Regions from separate parts of the Homo sapiens genome. Here all the other regions are linked to region 2. The links are contacts of gene promoters, found by promoter capture Hi-C in human tissues and cell types (Jung and others, 2019). All regions are on one chromosome and are shown on one strand. Each heading gives the region's core, a stretch centred on a gene start or on the middle of the fragment in contact. The rest is flanking DNA. Distances are from core to core; before and after follow the strand shown. Region 1 overlaps MTIF3 (mitochondrial translational initiation factor 3). Region 2 holds the start of CDX2 (caudal type homeobox 2). Region 3 holds the start of RPL21 (ribosomal protein L21).

Evidence for each region. Contacts are between HindIII fragments. The study calls those that stand out against the background at their distance.
Region 1: a fragment that was not itself captured here is called in contact with the fragment with the promoter of CDX2 in region 2 in 1 of the 25 tissues and cell types used here (H1 embryonic stem cells).
Region 3: the fragment with the promoter of RPL21 here is called in contact with the fragment with the promoter of CDX2 in region 2 in 1 of the 25 tissues and cell types used here (mesenchymal stem cells).

Annotation. Positions count from the first base shown.
Region 1 is chr13:27,443,336-27,446,998 of GRCh38, reverse strand. MTIF3 (mitochondrial translational initiation factor 3) reads left to right here. Exons shown (of 5, transcript NM_152912.5): 2 at 1,843-1,911. Among named protein-coding and RNA genes, the nearest start is that of MTIF3, 5.4 kb to the left of the region's middle. The HindIII fragment of the contact is 3,309 bases long and covers 426-3,663 here.
Region 2 is chr13:27,967,722-27,971,264 of GRCh38, reverse strand. It overlaps CDX2 (caudal type homeobox 2), which reads left to right and starts at 1,950. Exons shown (of 3, transcript NM_001265.6): 1 at 1,950-2,799. The coding sequence starts at 2,259. RefSeq lists an enhancer at 2,024-2,715. The HindIII fragment of the contact is 6,465 bases long and covers 1-3,543 here.
Region 3 is chr13:27,249,148-27,252,861 of GRCh38, reverse strand. It overlaps RPL21 (ribosomal protein L21), which reads right to left and starts at 1,304. Exons shown (of 6, transcript NM_000982.4): 1 at 1,277-1,304. RefSeq lists enhancers at 811-1,396, 1,050-1,589, 1,397-1,982, 801-2,000. The HindIII fragment of the contact is 12,000 bases long and covers 1-3,714 here.

The DNA of each region.
Region 1 (3,663 bases), core at 831-3,330, 520 kb after region 2:
TAAAATTTTTATTTCAGTAGCTTTTGGACTGCAAGTGGTTTTTCATTACATGGACGAATTATATAGTGGTGAATTCTGAGATTTTAGTGCACCATCACCCGAATCGTATACATTGTACCTAATGTGTACTTTTTTTATGCCAGCCTCCTTCCCATCCGCCCCCATCACCATTTATGATGAGACTTTTAGACCTGAGTTTAAGGAAAACTAAATGAAGAAATAAAGGCACTATGCATTACAAAAAAATCAGAATTTTAAGTTTATAAAGTTCCTTATTTATGGGTCACTTAGATATAGGCTTGAAACGAATAAAGGGAATATTTTTTAAAATTATGTACAAAGCCAGAATGTCAATGTATTAAATTACAGTGAAATTTAGAACTTACACAGACTAGAATAGTTACATTGGCATTACCAGTGAACCATTCCTCCCTCTAGGCTATTGATTTGTTCTTTAAAAATGTATTAATTATTGAACACCCGTATAACCATAACCTAGATTTAGCAAATGCTGCCGTAAGTGCATTGTTTATATTTTCTGCTGTATGGTTTCAAAGCAAGTGATAGATGTCATGACACTATCCTAAATACTTCAGCATTTGTTTCTTAAGAATTCCATTTTCACACCTAAGAAAATTAACAGGCGGGTGCCGTGGCTCACGCCCGTAATCCCAACACTTCAGGAGGCCAAGGCAGGTGGATCATTTGAGGTCAGGAGATCGAGACCAGCCTGGCCAACATGGTAAAACCCCATCTCTACTAAAAATACAAAAATTAGCCAGGCGGTAGTGGTGCACACCTGTAATCCCGGCTACTTGGGAGGCTGAAGCAGGAGAATCACTTGAACCTGGGAGGCGGAGGTTGCAGTGAGCCGAGATTGCCCCACTGCACTCCAGTCTGGGTGACAGAGTGAGAACCTGTCTCAAAAAAAAAAGAAAAAAGAAAATTAACAATACGTCTCTAATAGTATCTAATACCTAGTCCCTATTCAGATTTTCCCCTCATTCCCAACATTTCTTTTCAGCAAAATTATGTCTCCTTGATTTTTTTTTTCACTCAAGAATAGCTTCCCTCTTCCCTTTTCATTCCCAATGGCATTGGCTTTTTTAGACACTAACCAGGTGTCTTGTTCCATCTGGATTTGTCAGATTGTTTCCTTGTGGCATCTTCTATTGTTTCTCTGAGTCTGGCCCTTGTATCCCCTGGAAACTGGAAGCTAGACCCTGCATCAGGTTCAGGTCAAACCTTTTTGGCAAAGCTGCTTAATAGAAGGTGCCATGCACTTTGGGTAGCTTCCCATCCAGAGATGTGGCAAGGATGGCAGGTTGTTCCACTGTTGGAGATGCTGAGTCTGACGTTGGCTTAGGATGACAGACAGCTGTCTACCCTCAGCAGAGTGTGCTTTTCCCTCTCAGTCTGAAAGTAATCTGTTTGTGACCCTTTGGCATCAGCTCTCTTGCATCCTGCCTGAATCAGTAGTTTCGTTGGGGTTGGAAAAATGGTGATTTTCTTTTTTTTTTTTTGAAACAGGGTCTTGCTCTGTTGTCCAGACTGGAGTGCAGTGGTGTGATCAGAGCTCACTGCAGCCTCAACCTCCTGGGCTCAAGTGAACCTCCTTCCTCAGCCTCCCCAGTAGCTGGGAGTACAGTTGCGTGTCAACACACCTGGCTAATTTATTTTTTGTAGAGACTGGGTCTTGCTGTGTGTCCCGGGCTGGTCTCAAACTCCTGGCCTTAAGTGATCCTCTCGCCTTGGCCTCCCAAAGTGCTGGGATTACAGGTGTGAGACATCGTGCGTGGCATGATTTTCTAATTACTTTTACTTTTCTTTTGTGTTTATTAGCTGTCATTCTTCTCTACAGAAGAGCTTCTCCTCATCAACTGGGGATGATTACAGTTCTTCCTAAAAAAGGTAGGATAAATGCTCAGTTCTTTTTATTTAATTAGCAATTTTCAAAGTAAAAAATCAATATAATAGTCCCATGCAGTTGTGGCAAATTATCATTTTCATAGATTTTTGTATATTCAGTATATTGAAATGAATGACAGTGATTATGCCTTACTGTTTAAATTACACCAAAATTGACCAGTGGGAGTCTCTTCATGCTGCCAAACTGTAAATGACATGTAAACAAACAAAATCATAATACCATCATGGAAATCTGAAAGCTAAATATTTGATGAAATAAAGGAACGTTTTTTAATTGGGATAATATTGTGAATACTAAAAAGATTAAGGAGTACCTCTTAGAGATACATACTATTTCCTGAAAAAGTAGGATTTACTTTGAAAGCATTCCTGGATGGTTGGGGGGAGATAGTTGAGGGGTAAAGATGAAACCCAGCTGCTGTTTATTATCCAGTTCTTTCTGTACAAGGTTAAAAAGTTCCCTAATAAAAAGTTTTTAAATTATGAATTTATGTTGATAGCTGCAATTTAAATGTAATATTACAGGTTGTTTTAACTTTGTATTTATATTTTTATCTATAAGGGCCTGTTTTGAAGAAACGTATATTTTCAATTTTGCTGATTTAAAGCCAGTATTGAGTTAGTATTAAAGCTTAATTGCAATGAATTGCATTGTTTGCTGTATACATCAATAAAAATTGAAGTTTCTTAAAAATTTAAACTAGTGGCAAAGAACTTTAAAAGTTATATACTTCCAGTGTTTTTCTTTTTTTTTTCGTTTTTTTTGAGACAGAGTCTCGCTCTGTCGCCCAGGCTGGAGTGCAGTGGCGCAATCTCGCTCACTGCTAGCTCCGCCTCCCGGGTTCACGCCATTCTCCTGCCTCAGCCTCCCGAGTAGCCGGGACTACAGGCGCCCGCCACCACGCCCAGCTAATTTTTATTTTATTTTTTAGTAGAGACAGGGTTTCACTGTGTTAGCCAGGATGGTCTCGATCTCCTGACCTTGTGATCCGCCCACCTCAGCCTCCCAAAGTGCTGGGGTTACAGGCGTGAGCCACTGCACCCGGCCCTACTTCCAGTGTTTTTCTATTCTTTCCCTTTCCTTTGTTTCCTTCTTGGAAAGTGTTTTTAAAGCTTTTTTAAAAAACCTACGTCATTTTTCTGAAATAGTCTTTATTTTGTAAATAAAATTTATTTTCAAGTATAAAAATAACACTTATAAAAAAACTTGAGAAATACTGGCAATTAGGAAAAATAGGGGAATGAATTGCTTTTGTCTTCAACATTTTTATAAATTTTTTTCATCTTTTCCTATATCTAGTTATTTTGTTTGCTTGTTTGAAAAAAATCAAATTTTGAAATTTTTTATATTTTAATATGTTGATAATTTATTAAACAAGGCACTTTAGCTCTTATTCATAACTACTAAGGGAAAAAGATAGCCAGTACTGAGTTAGTATTAAAGCTTAATTGCAGTGAACTGTTTTGTCTACTGTATATATCAAGAATATTAGAATTTATATCTATCTATTTAGTAACATGATTTTACATGTGATAACTTCTACATCATTGTCGCTAATACAGACTTTGGAAAGAAACAACACTGATTTTAGACATAAAGTTTATAGAGCAGGCTTGTGAGCAGGAACTTAAGAGTCCCCTAGCAGAATACCTAGTGACATTTGGGACTGGATGCTGCTGCTAGTTTTCTGATAAGTGAAAAAAAAATCTTCTGTGATCTTTTCAGATTTTTCT
Region 2 (3,543 bases), core at 701-3,200:
AAGATGTTTGCTAGATCAAAAGTTCGAAGTGCCCACCACTTAACCTCCCACATTCCCACCCCATCAGGTCTGCGGACCTCCCCTACTGCCCTTCTCTCAATGATTCGGATTTTGTAACGGGGTTTGCAATTTGCTTCCGGTTGTATTTCTCAGGAAGTCCGATGACACTCGGCTGTCCAGGCCAGGCGCTGGAAGTCCCCCAGGAGGACCAGCTCGGTCTCCCACCTCTTGAGTGCACAGCTCCTTGGCCCCTGAGTACCCCACCACCCCCATTTCCAGCCTTCTTCCTTACAAACACGAAGGGTGGGAGGAACCAGAAAACAGGGGATCCCGCAGCCCTAGGCTAGTTCTGATCGCTTTCAGGTGTCTGCAGAGGCAAGTTGCTGGTTGTCACCTGTAAAATGGGGAGGATAAAAACACCTCCCAGATTTTGTTCTAGATCCTAGGGGGATGTGAGGCTCAAGGGAGATAAAGGACACTGGAGAGCACCCTAGAAATGACAGGATGAAGGCGATGGTGACAAATATCCGAGCGAAACGCTTGACAATGAGAACAGACAAGTGCAGGTCTCCAGGAGTGCCGCGAGCGCCCGCGGGTTCTGAGAGCGCTCAAAGCCGCCGAGTCAGGCTGCCCAGCCCGCCGGGCCTCGCCGCAGTGATCCTCATTCCCGAATCTGGCAGCGCTGTCAAAGGCTTGTATTAGGAGGTGAACGGCGGCCGCAGGCCCACTCCACGCGGTTGCTGAAACCGAGCTGGGCGCGCGCGGGGGCCGAATCTCGCCGCCTCCGCGCTCCTGTCGGGGCAGCTCCCGATCCCGGGCTGCGCGGCTTCGGTCCCCAAGACGGCCACTTCCAGCCCTAGGCCCCTTGGCCGCAGCGCTTCCCAAACCAAGAGAGATCCTTTCTCAACTCAGAGCTTTTCATTAGCAGTCGTTAATAATGGCCCTGAGTTGCCTTATCATCTCCTGGAAATGAGAAATAAATTTCTTCGGAGAACGTTTCCCTTTGTAAAGGACAGAGAGTTTTAAAGATACAGGTATGATGTAAGACACATAAATACCTAGGTAAGCATTAGCAGAAATTCTCTTTTCCTTATATTTAAGTATAATAAACATACAAGTGTAGCTCAATGAATTTTCACAAACTGACATTCTGTGTAACCAGCAGCCTAAGAAACTGCTTTACCAACGATCCCCTAGCTCGCCTCCAGTTATGCACGCCAATAACCACTAGCCTAACTTCTACCACATGCCCATTACTTCTGTAGTTTAAAACTTCTGATTCTTGAATGTAAACGTTTAACAATAAATCGCTTGAATTTAACTCAAATTTCAAATGTAAGATGAAGTCAGAGATGCAGCCTGAATCTAGGATCATAATTTGTCTTGTGCGGAGGGCGAGTAATTTCCTTGGGCAAGAAAATAACTGGAGGTGACAGTTGTTTGGGGCTGCAGTCGTCCGGGCCAGGAGCACAGGGCGGGAAGGAATGGCCCATCTCTTAGGGCTCTCTGCTTGTCACCTACCAGGTTGGTCAGAAACGTTCTCATCAAAGCAATGGTTCTCTTTTCTTTTCTCTTTGGGACAGAAGGAGTTTCTTGACCGCCCTCTTCCCTGCAAATGCATAAACAACCACTGCTCCTGTCTCCAAGCTCAGATTCCTACCAAGATAGCCTTTTCTCTTCCCCTCTCTTTTGTAAGTCTCTTGATTTCATTCTTTGAACCTGTGATTGGAGGTTAAAGTGCACCAGGTTGGAAGGAGGAAGCTCTTAACAATAAAGGTTTGAATATTTAGCTGTGTCAGGTCGCTGCCCTCTCACGAGCCTCCCTCCCCTTTATCTTTTAAAATGCAAATTATGTTTCGAGGGGTTGTGCGTAGAGTGCGCGCTGCGCCTCGACGTCTCCAACCATTGGTGTCTGTGTCATTACTAATAGAGTCTTGTAAACACTCGTTAATCACGGAAGGCCGCCGGCCTGGGGCTCCGCACGCCAGCCTGTGGCGGGTCTTCCCCGCCTCTGCAGCCTAGTGGGAAGGAGGTGGGAGGAAAGAAGGAAGAAAGGGAGGGAGGGAGGAGGCAGGCCAGAGGGAGGGACCGCCTCGGAGGCAGAAGAGCCGCGAGGAGCCAGCGGAGCACCGCGGGCTGGGGCGCAGCCACCCGCCGCTCCTCGAGTCCCCTCGCCCCTTTCCCTTCGTGCCCCCCGGCAGCCTCCAGCGTCGGTCCCCAGGCAGCATGGTGAGGTCTGCTCCCGGACCCTCGCCACCATGTACGTGAGCTACCTCCTGGACAAGGACGTGAGCATGTACCCTAGCTCCGTGCGCCACTCTGGCGGCCTCAACCTGGCGCCGCAGAACTTCGTCAGCCCCCCGCAGTACCCGGACTACGGCGGTTACCACGTGGCGGCCGCAGCTGCAGCGGCAGCGAACTTGGACAGCGCGCAGTCCCCGGGGCCATCCTGGCCGGCAGCGTATGGCGCCCCACTCCGGGAGGACTGGAATGGCTACGCGCCCGGAGGCGCCGCGGCCGCCGCCAACGCCGTGGCTCACGGCCTCAACGGTGGCTCCCCGGCCGCAGCCATGGGCTACAGCAGCCCCGCAGACTACCATCCGCACCACCACCCGCATCACCACCCGCACCACCCGGCCGCCGCGCCTTCCTGCGCTTCTGGGCTGCTGCAAACGCTCAACCCCGGCCCTCCTGGGCCCGCCGCCACCGCTGCCGCCGAGCAGCTGTCTCCCGGCGGCCAGCGGCGGAACCTGTGCGAGTGGATGCGGAAGCCGGCGCAGCAGTCCCTCGGCAGCCAAGGTAAGCAGAGGCTGCGCCCCTTCGGAGGGTGCTTGGGAAGGCGCGGGTCGAGCCAGTGGCTGCTGCGCGTCGCGCGTCCAGTGCGCACAGGGGCGTCCCGGGCTGTCTGGGAGCTCGGCGCCAGGAGGGGCACGGCCCGGAGACAAATTCGGGGGCCTCTGGCCCGTCGGGGCTTCTCTGACCTACTGAGCCTGGGAGTGAATATTCTGAGTCTCAACACCGTGTTCAGGCGTCCTCTTTCCAAGAGCTCCTCATTCGCAACCCCGGGACACCTTCGGGAAGCTCCGGGGAATGTCGGCGTGAGCACTGCTGGACGCCGGCAGAATCGCGTCCTCCGGCACTTGCTGCGGCATGCATTCCTTGCGTGGCTCCTGGCCGCCGAGGAGAGAGGGAGGCTCGAACCTTCTTGGGCTAGGTCTAGGCCATTTATCTCCGCTCTCTCTTTCCCCATCTGAGCCATCTAAGAAGAGAAGTGACCTGGGGGGGTCGGAGGATGGCTAGGCTGTGTGTGGGACCGGGTTTGGCCACTCGGGCCAATTCAAGGTACAGCGAGCAGGCAGACCAGGGAGAGCTGCTGTCGCTGGGAAGAAGGTGCTAGCCCCAGCTGCTAAGGCGACGGGGGCGCGCCCCGTCTCTGAACCTCTGACCTGTGAAGGGGTCATTTCAAGCAAAAGCTGGAAGGCTAGGGGCAAGAAGCCTAGGGGCAGGCGTCTGCGGAGAGAGCAGGGAGACGGGGAGGAAACC
Region 3 (3,714 bases), core at 55-2,554, 720 kb after region 2:
GACAATATTCTAACACAATTTGGTTTCTAAGTTTACCAACAATCCTTTAAGAATGGCTCCCAAAGTACCATTTTTATAAAAATTGTATAGCAAGAAGACATGTTTCACCTAACTCACCAAAGTCAAACCATTGTTACAATGGATGAACCCTTTAAATGCCAGGTACTCTGTTCCAATCCCCAAAGCCTTTAGATGTGTATAAAGTTCCAAAAACTTGTGCTAAGTTAGTACACAAAGGGTGATACTGTGTAGATTCAAGTCACTTTGTGGAATCACCAAGTGGCATAATCAGTTAACTCATTCCTGATTCCAGAGCCCATAATCCTCCACTAGATCCATCTTTCTGAGTTTGGAATCCATTTTAAGCATGGACCCCATACACTTAAAACTGAAGGCACTTTTCAAAACGATGCTTTACAGTTTGTAAGAGTATTAAAATCATGGCAACTAGGATCCACCATAAAGAGCAACCTGCAGTTTGCTCGACTCTGTTGACGTCCACAAACTAGACAAAATGATGAACTATGGCTAAATGTTTCCCTTCACTCAAAGCATGCTGCCCTAGAATTCGCAAAACAGTATCTCCTCTTGGTGCAAATATTGGTGTTGCAACCTCAAAACACTTTCCCTTCGTCCGATCACCATGTGGGGTCAAAATTTTAAAAACAGTCGGAAATCGTCTTATGCATTAACTAAGGGCAGTGAGGGTTCATCACCCAGGACGACTCCGGGACCCACTCTCCGACCGAGAGCCCGGGTTTTCACACCTGTAGGCTTCACAGAAGATTAAAGCCGACGCCTGACTTTAAACCCATTCCTACTACCCCTTAAGTCCTCACCCAACATCATCGCAAGATTTGGAATAAAAAAGCCACACTGAAAGGAGTTAGAAAGGCATCAGGCCACGCGGCCCCCACACAGCCTATGTGAGAGGGGCCACCCACAGTACCGGAGATGCAGCCACGGGAACATAAAACGAAGTCTTTTAAAGATTAACTCGAGTCGCCTCACCCCAAGCGACTCAGTCTCGTCTTTCTCGCAAATGTCCCCCCGCAGGGCCGCAACATCGCAGTCCGGTTCTCAGCCCACGGCCCAGACCCGACCCGGCGCACGCTGCTCCCCGTCTGGCAGAACATGGTTTAACCCGCCCATGCCAATGGACCTCAAACAGGTTAGAGAGTCTCCCCACGGTCCCAATGAACGACCTCTGAGGCCACAAGGTCGCGGTTCAAGTCTGTCGAACACCTAGCGCCCGGGAGCCACGCGTAGGCCCTACCTGGAAGATGGCGGTTCCGGCCGAAAGGAAAGAGGCGGGGCCGCGGCGCGCGCCTTACAAGGGCCTGTGGGCTGCCCACGGCGCTGCCTGAGGGAAACGCCAACCGTAAGCGACTTCTTTCTAGGGAAGAAGATCGTCTCTGAGAACACAGAAAGTCTGTGAGGATATTTTCCCCTCTTGCGAAAGAAAGGCAACCGGCCAACACAAGCTGACACTTGCATCGTGTCAGACAGCCCGGAAAGGGGCCTTCAAGGGCGATCAAGAGGACGCCGTCGTCCCGAGCGTGCTTACGCCATCCTTTGCGTCACCGCCTTCGCCGGAAGCTGCCTTGTATCCGCGTCTCCGCAGGGAAAACTGCGGCTGGCGGTGCGGGAAGTGCTATTAGTAGTTGTTTATTTGTTTGTTTGCAGAAATAATTGCTTGGGTACGAAGGTCAAACGAGAATGAAGCAAGTATATTATCTAGTTTGTATGTCTTTAAATAGTTTCTCCTCCACACGTCTAAACATACGCACCTGCTAGTAGGTGCGCAAATGTTAAAACCTCTTTGGGAAAGCAATGTGGCAAAATCTAGTAAAAGTTTTCAATTACTAAACCCCAGCACTCTGCTCCTACCTATATGTCTTGTAGAAACTTTGGTAAGTGAACAAGGATGTACGTAACAGCGCTGTGGGTAGAAGCAAAAAATTAGAAACGTCCATCAATAACAGAATAAATACCTTATGGGATGTTAGGATGTAGTATTATACGCCAATAAAAGAAGACTGAACTCAGAAATGTGATGAGGCAAAAAGAGAAAGATGTAGAAAAATAAATAGTATGACAATTCATATACATTCAACTCTAAAACTTGTAAAACAATGCTATATATTGCTTAGTTATGCATACATATGTAGTTAAAGAAGTCAAGAAATACAAGAGAATGAAAATCAAGTTGAGAAAAGCAGTCATATCTGGTAAGGAGGGGACAATAAAGGGAGGCTTTAACTGTATTGACCATTATTAAACCGGGTGTTAAATATATGGGTGGCCATTGTTTTATTCACTACACCTTTAAAAATAGATATTATTTTCTTAATGTAGTTTATTTAAATTGAGATAATGCCATATACCCAGCATCCAGTTTCCCCTATTATTAACATCTCATGCTAATATGGTACATTTGTTGCAATTAATGAACCAATATTTTACACTGTTATTAACTAAGGTTCACATTTTATTCAGATTTCCTTCGGTTTTACCTAATACCCTTTTTCTGTTCCAGGATTCCATCCAGAATACCACATTACATTTAGTTATGATGTCTCCTTATATGCCTCTTGTGGCTGTGGCAGTTTCTCAAACTTTCCTTACTTTTGGTGACCTTGAGAGTTTTGAGGAGTACTGGTCATGTATTTTGTAGGATGTCCTAATCATGGAATTTGTCTCATGTTTTTCTCATGATTGTATGTATTTTTAGGATGCATTTTTAAAAAGTCAGCTAAGTTAACAAAATCCCTTATCAGACTGAATATAAATAATATCGTCCAGTCGCTTTTGAAATTTGCATGTCTTCGACTCACTCTCCTGATGCACCTGAAAGTTGTAATTTCTAAGAACTGCGTCAGCACCATTTTTTAAATGTGTACATTCTGTGACCATCGTCATCAGCACTTAACATCATTTGCTGAAGAACTTGAGGAGGAATAGGATTTGGTATTGATTCCTTCAATACGTTGACTCCTCCAGACTTTCACTGTAACCATTAGCCCTTGGCTTCTAGATTGTCTTTAACTTAATTTTCTGTAGTTCATTATTACAGTCACTCTGTTAGCACTCACTTCCTCAGGTCACTTTTCCTTTCCCATTACTTTCTTTCTTTCTTTGAGAGGGAATTTTGTTCTTGTTGCCCAGGCTGGAGTGCAGTGGCGCGACATCGACTCACCACAACCTCTGCCTCCCGGGTTCAAGCGATTCTCTTGCCTCAGGCTCACGAGGAGTAGCTGGGATTACAGGCGCCCGCCACCACACCTGGCTGATTTTTTTGTTTTTAGTAGCGACGAGGTTTCACCATGTTGGCCAGGCTGGTCTCCAACTCCTGACCTCAGGTGATCCACCCGCCTCCACCTCCCAAAGTGCTGGGATTATAGGCGTGAGCCACCGCGCCTGGCCCCCATCACTTTCTTAGCACATACCGAACCTTGGATAAATGCAACCGTGACAGTACCTCCACAGCTGAGCACCGTTGAAGAAAATCTTGTAATCTGGTGTGATGACAAATCAGAAACTAGTCATCCATGCACTATATTTTTTTGCACTTGGAAATATTTTTTTGAGCCCATAGAGTGTTTTAAAAATTAACATATCAAAAAAAAAAGATTTCTGGCTTCCCTTGAGAAATCAGGAGATCTGGCAGCATAGAGCTGATAGTCTTGATGGCCACTCCACTGGCTTCCCCTT